Linked DNA regions of Homo sapiens: region 2 is linked to region 1. Evidence: promoter capture Hi-C in human tissues and cell types (Jung and others, 2019). All regions are on one chromosome and are shown on one strand. The core of a region is centred on a gene start or on the middle of the fragment in contact, and the rest is flanking DNA. Distances in the headings are between cores, read along the strand shown. Region 1 holds the start of MTHFD1 (methylenetetrahydrofolate dehydrogenase, cyclohydrolase and formyltetrahydrofolate synthetase 1). Region 2 overlaps SGPP1 (sphingosine-1-phosphate phosphatase 1).

The links. Contacts are between HindIII fragments. The study calls those that stand out against the background at their distance.
Region 2: a fragment that was not itself captured here is called in contact with the fragment with the promoter of MTHFD1 in region 1 in 1 of the 25 tissues and cell types used here (dorsolateral prefrontal cortex).

The regions. Positions count from the first base shown.
Region 1 is chr14:64,386,043-64,390,418 of GRCh38, reverse strand. It overlaps MTHFD1 (methylenetetrahydrofolate dehydrogenase, cyclohydrolase and formyltetrahydrofolate synthetase 1), which reads right to left and starts at 2,066. Exons shown (of 28, transcript NM_005956.4): 1 at 1,951-2,066. The coding sequence starts at 1,991. RefSeq lists enhancers at 2,214-2,303, 2,824-2,883, 2,904-3,003. The HindIII fragment of the contact is 7,460 bases long and covers 1-4,376 here.
Region 2 is chr14:63,721,248-63,725,623 of GRCh38, reverse strand. All of the region lies in intron 1 of SGPP1 (sphingosine-1-phosphate phosphatase 1), which reads left to right. Among named protein-coding and RNA genes, the nearest start is that of SGPP1, 4.6 kb to the left of the region's middle. The HindIII fragment of the contact is 5,155 bases long and covers 1-4,376 here.

The sequences.
Region 1 (4,376 bases), core at 817-3,316:
CAGGAGGCAGAGGTTGCAGTGAGCCAAGATTGGACACAGCAAGACTTCATCTCAAAAAAAAAAATAGATCTCAAGGCAGCAGCTACCATGTAAAAAAAAAAAAAGATAATGAATCATTCATATATACATTAACTAATTACTGATTATTAATACAACATATATCGAATACTTATTATGTGCCAGGAAGAATTATAAATGATCATCTGTTAGGAACCCATTTAATTCTACTAACATCCCAATGACCTAGACATTACTTTTACTTAACATTTGAGGAAACTTTGGCACAGAAAGGTTAATTAATTTGCTTAAAACCACACAAGTAGTAAGGCAGGAAACAGGGTTTCCAGGTGTTTAGGATATAGACAAAAATAAGACAATACATGTATTTGCCCTTATGGAGTTGATAAACATATTTAATTTGCTCTCCAATTAACGAAAGTATATTCAGTGAGCACCTATTCTCAGTACTGGCCCAGATGCATTATTATTGTACTAAATTATCTGCACTATTATTATGCACTAAATTATCTCTTCACAATCAGTCTTTCTAAAAGGAAGATTTTTATATTAAAACAAAAAGCCACTGGAAAAGGAAGTAAGTTTGAATACAAGCAAACAAAAACAGAAAGTAAAGCAGAAATACAGTTTAGCAAGCCACATGTTGAAAAGCACTAAGCAGTAAGTATTGTGATTTCTTTTTTTTTTTTTCTTAGACGGAGTTTCGCTCTTGTTGCCCAGGCTGGAGTGCAATGGCGCATCTCAGCTCACTGCAACCTCTGCCCCCCAGGTTCAAGTGATTCTCCTGCCTCAGCCTCCCAAGTAGCTGGGATTACAGATGCCTGCCACCACACTCGGCTAATTTTTTGTATTTTTAGTAGAGATGGGGTTTCACCATTTTGGATAGGCTGGTCTTGAACTCCAGACCTCAGGTGATCCACCCACCTCGGCCTCCCAAAGTGCTGGGATTACAGGCATGAGCCACTGGGCCCGGACTTTTCACCACCGATGACTTTGTAATTCACTCAAAAACCTATTACAAAGTTAGGAGTTACAGGACAATTACAATTTAGTAACTGCTGTGGCTGGCAACAGTTACTTACATAACGGGTGATGTGAAAGGTCCCAAGAGCAAACTCAGTAAGGTCACACAGAATATATCTTTCCCTCCTTCATCTACTAGAGGGAATATATTTTTCCCTCTTCCTTCTACTCTCATTTTTCCTCACCAGTCACCTCCCAGACAAAAAGCAGCCAGTGTTACTTCCTGGGAGTAAAGCTGGCAACGATACCCACTAATTAAGCATTCAGATGTCCCGCAAGGGTAGAACAGGCAGAGGTCAAGTGGAATGCAGAATATTCTCAGGACTCAGGAGCCAAATTACGTTTCAAGTAACTCTAGGACCAGGGCAGAGAGATGGCTGTTAGAGAGAAGCACGAGATTGAAGAGAAAGGAAAAATGTATTAGATTTCACTTAGCGTATGATAAGACTATGGTATAGTGGGAAAAGCTATGAGCTGGAAGGACCCTCTGTCATTATCAGCCTTGTAGTCTTGTCAAGCCTTGTCACCTCACTAGTCTCCATCTACTCACCTCCAAATTAACGGGAATTAAGTAGATTGGATTTCTGAGTTCTGACTAGGGGGGCTCCAGGAAGCCGCAACTACCCACTCTCCCGGCAGAAAGTCACCAGCAGCTGCGCGTTTGGGAGCATAGTCGGCACAGGACTTTTCCCCGAAGCACAGGAGCCAGCGGCTACAGCCACTAGGCAGTCCACTTGCAAACGCAGGTTGTGCCCGGGTTCTCTTTCTTTGGCTGCAGGTCTTCAGGTGTTATGGGCCTAACTCTTCCGCTACAAGTGTCCCTCCCGCAAAAAATGGGTCCGGGGGACCTGCACACCCTCAGAGCCCTCGTCCACAGCCCCACACTCAACAACAATGTCAGGTGCTTACGCGGAGATCTCCTTCCCGTTCAGGATTTCTGCTGGCGCCATGGCCTTTATTAGTCCGCTGCCCACGATGGACACCACCAATATCGAGGTTCCACTCCCTCCGCAGCCAAGCAGGACAACCCAACCCACGTGCTTAGGGACTGGCCAGGGGATCACACTACTGCGCCTGCGCCCCTGCCCGCTTCTCCCCCTGCAGACGCGGTGGCGCATGCGCAGTTCGGAAGGACCCGAGTCCCTTAACTAACCGAGAGCTAACAGGTCGGGGACTGCGGGACGGAAGAGGGAGGGGAAGATGAAGAAAATCGGTGATGAATGGCTGGCGGAAATGATTGGCGGAAAGAAAGAGCCAGTTCACAGTGCGCCTTTGTATTCGGCGGGAAACCCGGCCGAAGAGGGAGCTGGAAAGGACTCCGGAATCCGGCCGTAATTCCAGCCAATCAGGGAGTAGAGTTGCGGGGCGGGGTTGGGGCGGGGCAGTCTCGCGGGAGATAGTTTCGCGGGTTCGGGAGGCGAGTCTCCGGTTTCCGCCCAGTCTCTGGGGACGCGGTGGCGGGGTCTGAATCGCCTGGCTTCCAGGGAGTTTTGGGCGGGTCCCCGCACGGGAGCGTGGCAGGCGCTGGACTCGACAGCAGATGTGGAACTGGAGAGCTTGGCGCGCCCTCATACTTTGTCACACACCTACGCCACCAGACTGGGGTCGGGCCCCTCCGCGTTCTGCTCTGGAGGGCCTGGGTCTGGGCCCAGCATAGCGCTTTTAGAATCTCCTCAGCTGAATCTGACGCTCAGCCGTAGGTGAAGCTTAGCCCGCTGTTTCAGGCCCCGCCGATCTGGAAGGAGTGTCAGAGCTGGAGCGCGCGTGGCCTCATCGGTGTTGGGGTCACCCCGGGGTTGCCAGGGCTCATGGAGGGTCGTAGTCTGGATTTTGTCACCCCCACGTCCCCGCCCCGCAGCAAGTCTGGGGTTGGAGAACTCACGCGGTCTTCGTAAGCTACATGCCAGTTGACCCTCGAGGAGGGATGCTCCCTCCCCTTAAGCGTCCACGCTGGAGAAGGAGTAAGATGGACAATTGCCTGGGGAGCCTGACAGGGCGGTGGCAGCTGGGATGCTGGAGAGGACTGGCCCCTTGTGTTACTGAGTCCAAGGAATATGCTTGCTCTGCTCTAGGAACCGCGTTCAGGTTACAGTCATCCCAGTAGAGTCCTGAAGATGCGTGGTTCAGGTCACTTAGGACTTGACCAGATACCGGGTTTCTTTTACAAGCCGTTTACTACTGGCAGAGCTCATCTAAAACTTTTTTTGTTTGTTTGTTTGAGACGGAGTCTCATTCTGTCGCCCAGGCTGGAGTGCAGTGGCACGATTTTGGCTCACTGCAACCTCCGCTTCCCGGGTTCAAGCAGTTCTCTGCCTCAGCCTCCCGAGTAGCTGGGATTACAGGCACCACCTAATTAGCCCGCCACCACGCCCGGCTAATTTTTGTATTTTTAGTAGAGACGGGGTTTCACCATCTTGGCTAGGCTGGTCTTGAACTCCTGACCTCGTGATCCACCCGCCTCGGCCTCCCAGAGTGCTGGGATTACAGGCGTGAGCCACCGCACCTGGCCTAAAACTGATTTTTTATTAATTTTGGGGCTTTTAATATTTTTTTCTTATTTCTAAATTCTGAGGTTATTTATAGTAGCCCCATATACGGGATTAGATAATCTCTTGTGATTTTCTATTTCTGGTAATTATTTCTAATATATGTTTTTTTGTTTTTGAGACGGAGTCTCGCTATGTCGCTCAGGGTGGAGTGCAGTGGCATGATCTCCGCTCTTTGTAGCCTCTGCCTCCCGGGTTCAAATGATCCTCCCACCTCAGCCCCCCGAGTAGCTTGGACCACAGGTGCATGCCACCACGCCGGCTAATTTTTCTATTTTTGGTAGAGTTGGGGTTTCACTATGTTGACCAGACTGGTCTAGATCTCAAGGGATTAGTCTCCCTTGGCCTCCCAAAATGCTGGGATAATGGGCATGAGCCACCGTGCGTGGCCTTAAAGTTACTATTCTTAAAGTTTGCACAAGTGATATGTTAAAGGCACAGACTTAGTAATATAATGTCATTATAATAATAACCCTAAAACACATTGTCTCATATTGTGTTGTACCTAAACAAGTGAAATTAAGAAGAAAATTGAAGGAAATGTTTCTGGTAAATTGCAGATAGTGAATCTTTTGTCTTATACTATCAAATAGGTATTGACTATTCCAGCTTTCTTATTTGTTGAGGAAGATGGCAGAAATCCCGTTTTACAGAGGGATAGACTTTGAAGGATAATACCCAAAGCTGCATAGCTGTGGCTGGTATAGGCCCCAAACCTGATGTTTCTTCTCTAAATCTACTGCCTTTGCCATCTCAACAGCCTGGTTTTTGACAGTTATCTATGTATGA
Region 2 (4,376 bases), core at 1,050-3,549, 670 kb after region 1:
GCTTAGATTTAGTTTTTAAACAACCTAGTATATTTAACTCAAAGTTTAAGAAATTTGCGTATCATAGAATTTTAGACTTTGAAGTAGACCGGATGTTAGAAATCACTTAGTTTCAAACTGTCATTTTACAGATGTGCAAACTGACCAGTTACATTAAAATTAATCTTGTAATGCTTTAAATTTCTTATTTTACATTTTTTCACTCTAAATTTGCATGATTTTTCGGTTAGTTGTTCTGAAAGAAAGCCTCCTGACGGAGTCTCGCTCTGTTGCCCAGGCTGGAGTGCAGTGGTGCAGTCTCGGCTCACTGCAACCTCTGCCTCCCAGGTTCAAGCAATTCTCTGCCTCAGCCTCCCGAGTAGCTGGGATTACAGGCGCCTACCACCACACCAGCTAATTTTTTAAGGATTTTTAGTAGAGATGTGGTTTCACTGTTTTGGCCAAGCTGGTCTTGAACTCCTGACCTCAGGGGATCCACCCATCTCGGCCTCCCAAAGTGCTGGGATTACAGGCGTGAGCCACTGCGCCTGGCCTAAGCCTCCTTTATATGAAAGTTCTGTGTTTATAAATGTTTGACTAATAATCCAGTACAAAAAACAAGATGGCTTTTTAACCTTTTTCCTTTTTTTTTTCCCTAAGAGTCGGGGTCTCACTATATTGCCTAGGCTGGTCTCGAACTCCTGGGCTCAAGTTATCCTCCCTCCTTGGCCTCCCAAGTGCCAGCTTTTCCTTTTTTTTTTTTAAGACGGAGTCTCGCTCTGTTGCCCAGGCTGGAGTGCTGTGGCGCAATCTCGGCTCTCTGCAATCTCCTGATCTCAATCAGGAGATTGAGACCATCCTGGCTAACACAGTGAAACCCCGTCTCTACTAAAAAATACAAAAAATTAGCCGCCCCCCGCTCATCGGCCTCCCCACCACTGGCCTCCCAGAGTGCTGGCATTACAGGCGTGAGCCACCGCGCCTGGCCTCCTTTTCCTTTTCCTTTTTTTTTTTTTTTTTTTTTTTTTAAAGATCCTTGTTATCTATTGAAAACAAAAGTACCTTCCTTTGCTTCAGCTGTTTGGGTCCTCTACTCTGTGAATTAGTATTGTACTGCATTGGAGGCTTATATAGAAAGCCTTTCCCCTAGAAACTGGGGGAAGAATTAAATAATGAAAGCCTGGTGTTTTTCTAATAAGTTTTGGTTGGCAGTCTTGCCTATCTGCTGTGCCTCAGCTGCTTATTTGGGACAGGTATGGTTACTTATATATGCCTGGCGTGCTGAAACATCTCTTGAAACTGAGTTCTATACCATTCCTTTGTCTTGGCTTTACTACTTCACTACTACCTACTACTTAATGTTTCTGCCCTCATTGAAATTTGCTCAAGATTCACCACCCAGAGCATTTTAAATTAATCCTTTCTGTTTCATTATTCCTCACTTACACTTAAAATGACAGTATATGGCCAGGTGTAGTGGTTCATCCCTGTACACCTAGCACTTTGGGAGGCTGAGGCGGAAGGATCCCTTGAGCCCAGGAGTTGGAGACCAGCCTGGGCAATATAGCGAGACCCTGTCTCTGCAAAAAAAAATCAAAAATCAGCTGGGCATGGTGGCGCATGCCTGTAGTTCTAGCTACTAGGGAGGCTGAGGTGGGAGCATCACTTGAGCCTGGGAGGTTGAGGCTGCAGTGAGGTGTGATTGCACCACTGCACTTCAGCCTAGATGACAGGGCAAGACCCTATCTCAAAAAAAAAAGACAGCGTACAAACTCGGGGTTGTTTAAAAATGCAGATTTCTACATTTCCCAGGGTAAGTTTCCCAGAGATTCTGACCCATTAGATGAGTGAGGAGTTAGTTGTATTTCTTCAAGATTGCTGTCTCAGCTTCTTTGAAATTCCAGTCTTTGAATTTTTTTTTTTTTTGAGACGAAATCTCTCTTTGTCACCCAGGCTGGAGTGTGGTGGTGTGATCTTGTCTCACTGCAAACTCTGCCTCCCCGGTTCAAGCGATTCTCCTGCCTCAGCCTCCTCAGTAGCTGGGACTACAGGCGCACACCACCACCCCCGGCTAATGTTTGTATTTTTAGTAGAGACGGGGTTTCACCATGTTGGCCAGGATGGTCTCGATCTCTTGACCTCGTGATCCACTCCCCTCAGCCTCCCAAAGTGCTGGGATTACAGACGTGAGTCACTGCACCCTGCCTGAATTTTTTTAAGGTACGTTATAAGACAAAGGAGAGATTGGAATAGTATAGCTCCAAGTAATTACTTAAAGAGTTTTGTATATAAATTTTATGGTGATGGAGGATAGAAAATGTTATGACCTTTTCCCAAGGATTAAATAACTTGAGATCCATTGCCTAGGATAATGGTTATTGCTCTCATATTATTCATTGGAATTTTTTGTAGCCTGAATTGGAAAAAAAATTAAGAAATAAGGAGCATCTGATATAAAGACAATAAATAGTCCTTTGAAGAATAAGATAAACAATATGACGTTCCTTTTCCATTTATGTTTGCATGTTCTTTTCAAAAATAAAATTTCTTAATTTTTAAAGCTCTGTTTGACTTGAATTAATTTAATTTTTAAATAATATGGAATGTAATCAGTTTTAACTGTATACTTTATTTAATTAGAAGGTTTTAGATTAATTTTTTTTTTTTTTTTTTGAGACAGGGTCTTACTCTGTCGCTCAGACTGGAGTACAGTGGCACGATTCCGGCTCACTGCAGCCTCGACCTCCCAGGCTTAAGTGATCCTCCCACCTCAGCCTCCCAAGTAGCTGGGACCACAGGCACACACTACCACCAGCTAATTTTGTTTGTTTGTTTGTTTGTTATAGAGACGGGGTTTTGCCATGTTGCTTAGGCTGGTCTTGAACTCCTGAGCTCAAGTGATCCTCCCACCTCGGCCTCCCAAAGTGCTGGTATTACAGGCGTCAGCCACCTTGCCCTGCTAAAAATTAGCTGTAGCACTTACTTTATAGACAACTCATTGCCAACTAGTCTTTCATTTTGTGTGCTTTTACTACTTTTTATTATAATAATTATATTTTATAATAATAATGTTATAGCATTGTTAATATTTTTATTTTTTATTTTTTATTTTTTGAGATGGAGTCTCACTCTGTTGCCCAGGCTGGAGTGCAGTGGTGCGATATTGGCTCACTGCAACCTCTGCCTCCTGGGTTCAAGTAGTTCTCCTACTTCAGCCTCCTGAGTAGCTGGGATTACAGGCACGCCCCACCACGCCCGGCTAATTTTTTTTTTTTTTTTTTTTCAATAGAGACAGGGTTTCACCATGTTGGTCAGGCTAGCCTCTAACTCCTGACCTTGTGATCTGCCCACCTTGGACTCCTAAAGTGTTGGGATTACAGGCATGAGCCACTGCGCCCAGCTGTTAATATATATTTTTAAGCACTTACTATGAATCAGACATTGTTTGAAATGTCTTTTATCTCATTTACTCTTCTATAATACCCCAATGTTCCTATTACTAGCATGGGTTTACAGATGAGGAAACTGAGGTACAGGGAGGTTATATTATGTAACTTAAGCAAAGTAACCTAGCCAGTAAGTGTCAGGGGCTCAGACTGACTCAGCAGCTTATATAGAAAATTCATTTTAAATCACACTTTGTGTGTGATTTTTAAGGTATGCTTGCAGTAATATTATTTTTGAAATATATGATTGTATTCTTAAAATATGAGAATAGCTTTTATATACCTTGAGAAGATAATTTGTGTTTGTGTATGTACATACATATGCAACATCCACAAATATTTGTGTTTTAAACATGTATGAAGATGTTGACTGAAATCAAATGCTGATTTGTCACCTAATATAAATAAAAAATTTGATAAACATAGTAAGAGCTTTGGAAAAGAAAGACACATAAGAATATTCTGTCAAAATGTTGTTTACTGTAAATAATAGAAGAAGATATCTGTGAGGTCATGAAAAGATAAATGGAAGAAAGGCAAAAAGTAAGAGTTACAAAAGTAGGTCACAGTAAAGACCAGAGGAGGCTGCAAGATCCAAGAAAAATTGATCACTATGGTAATTCTGGAAAGAAACACAGTTTATTAAAAAATTGAATTGGCTTGCCTCTTTTTTATGGAGCACGATACTTGTGTTTGAAATTCACGTTTTCCTGAGTTTATAAGTCCTTATTACTAATTCCTTTTTTTTTTTTCTGGATACGAAGTCTTGTTCTTGTCACCAGGCTGGAGTGCAGTGGCATGATCGTGGCTCACTACAACCTCCGCCTCCTGTGTTCAAGTGATTCTTCTACCTCAGCCTCCTGGGTAGCTGGGATGACAGGTGTGTGCCACCACACCCGGCTAATTTTGTATTTTTTTTGAGATGGCGTCTTGCTCTGTTGCCCAGCCTGG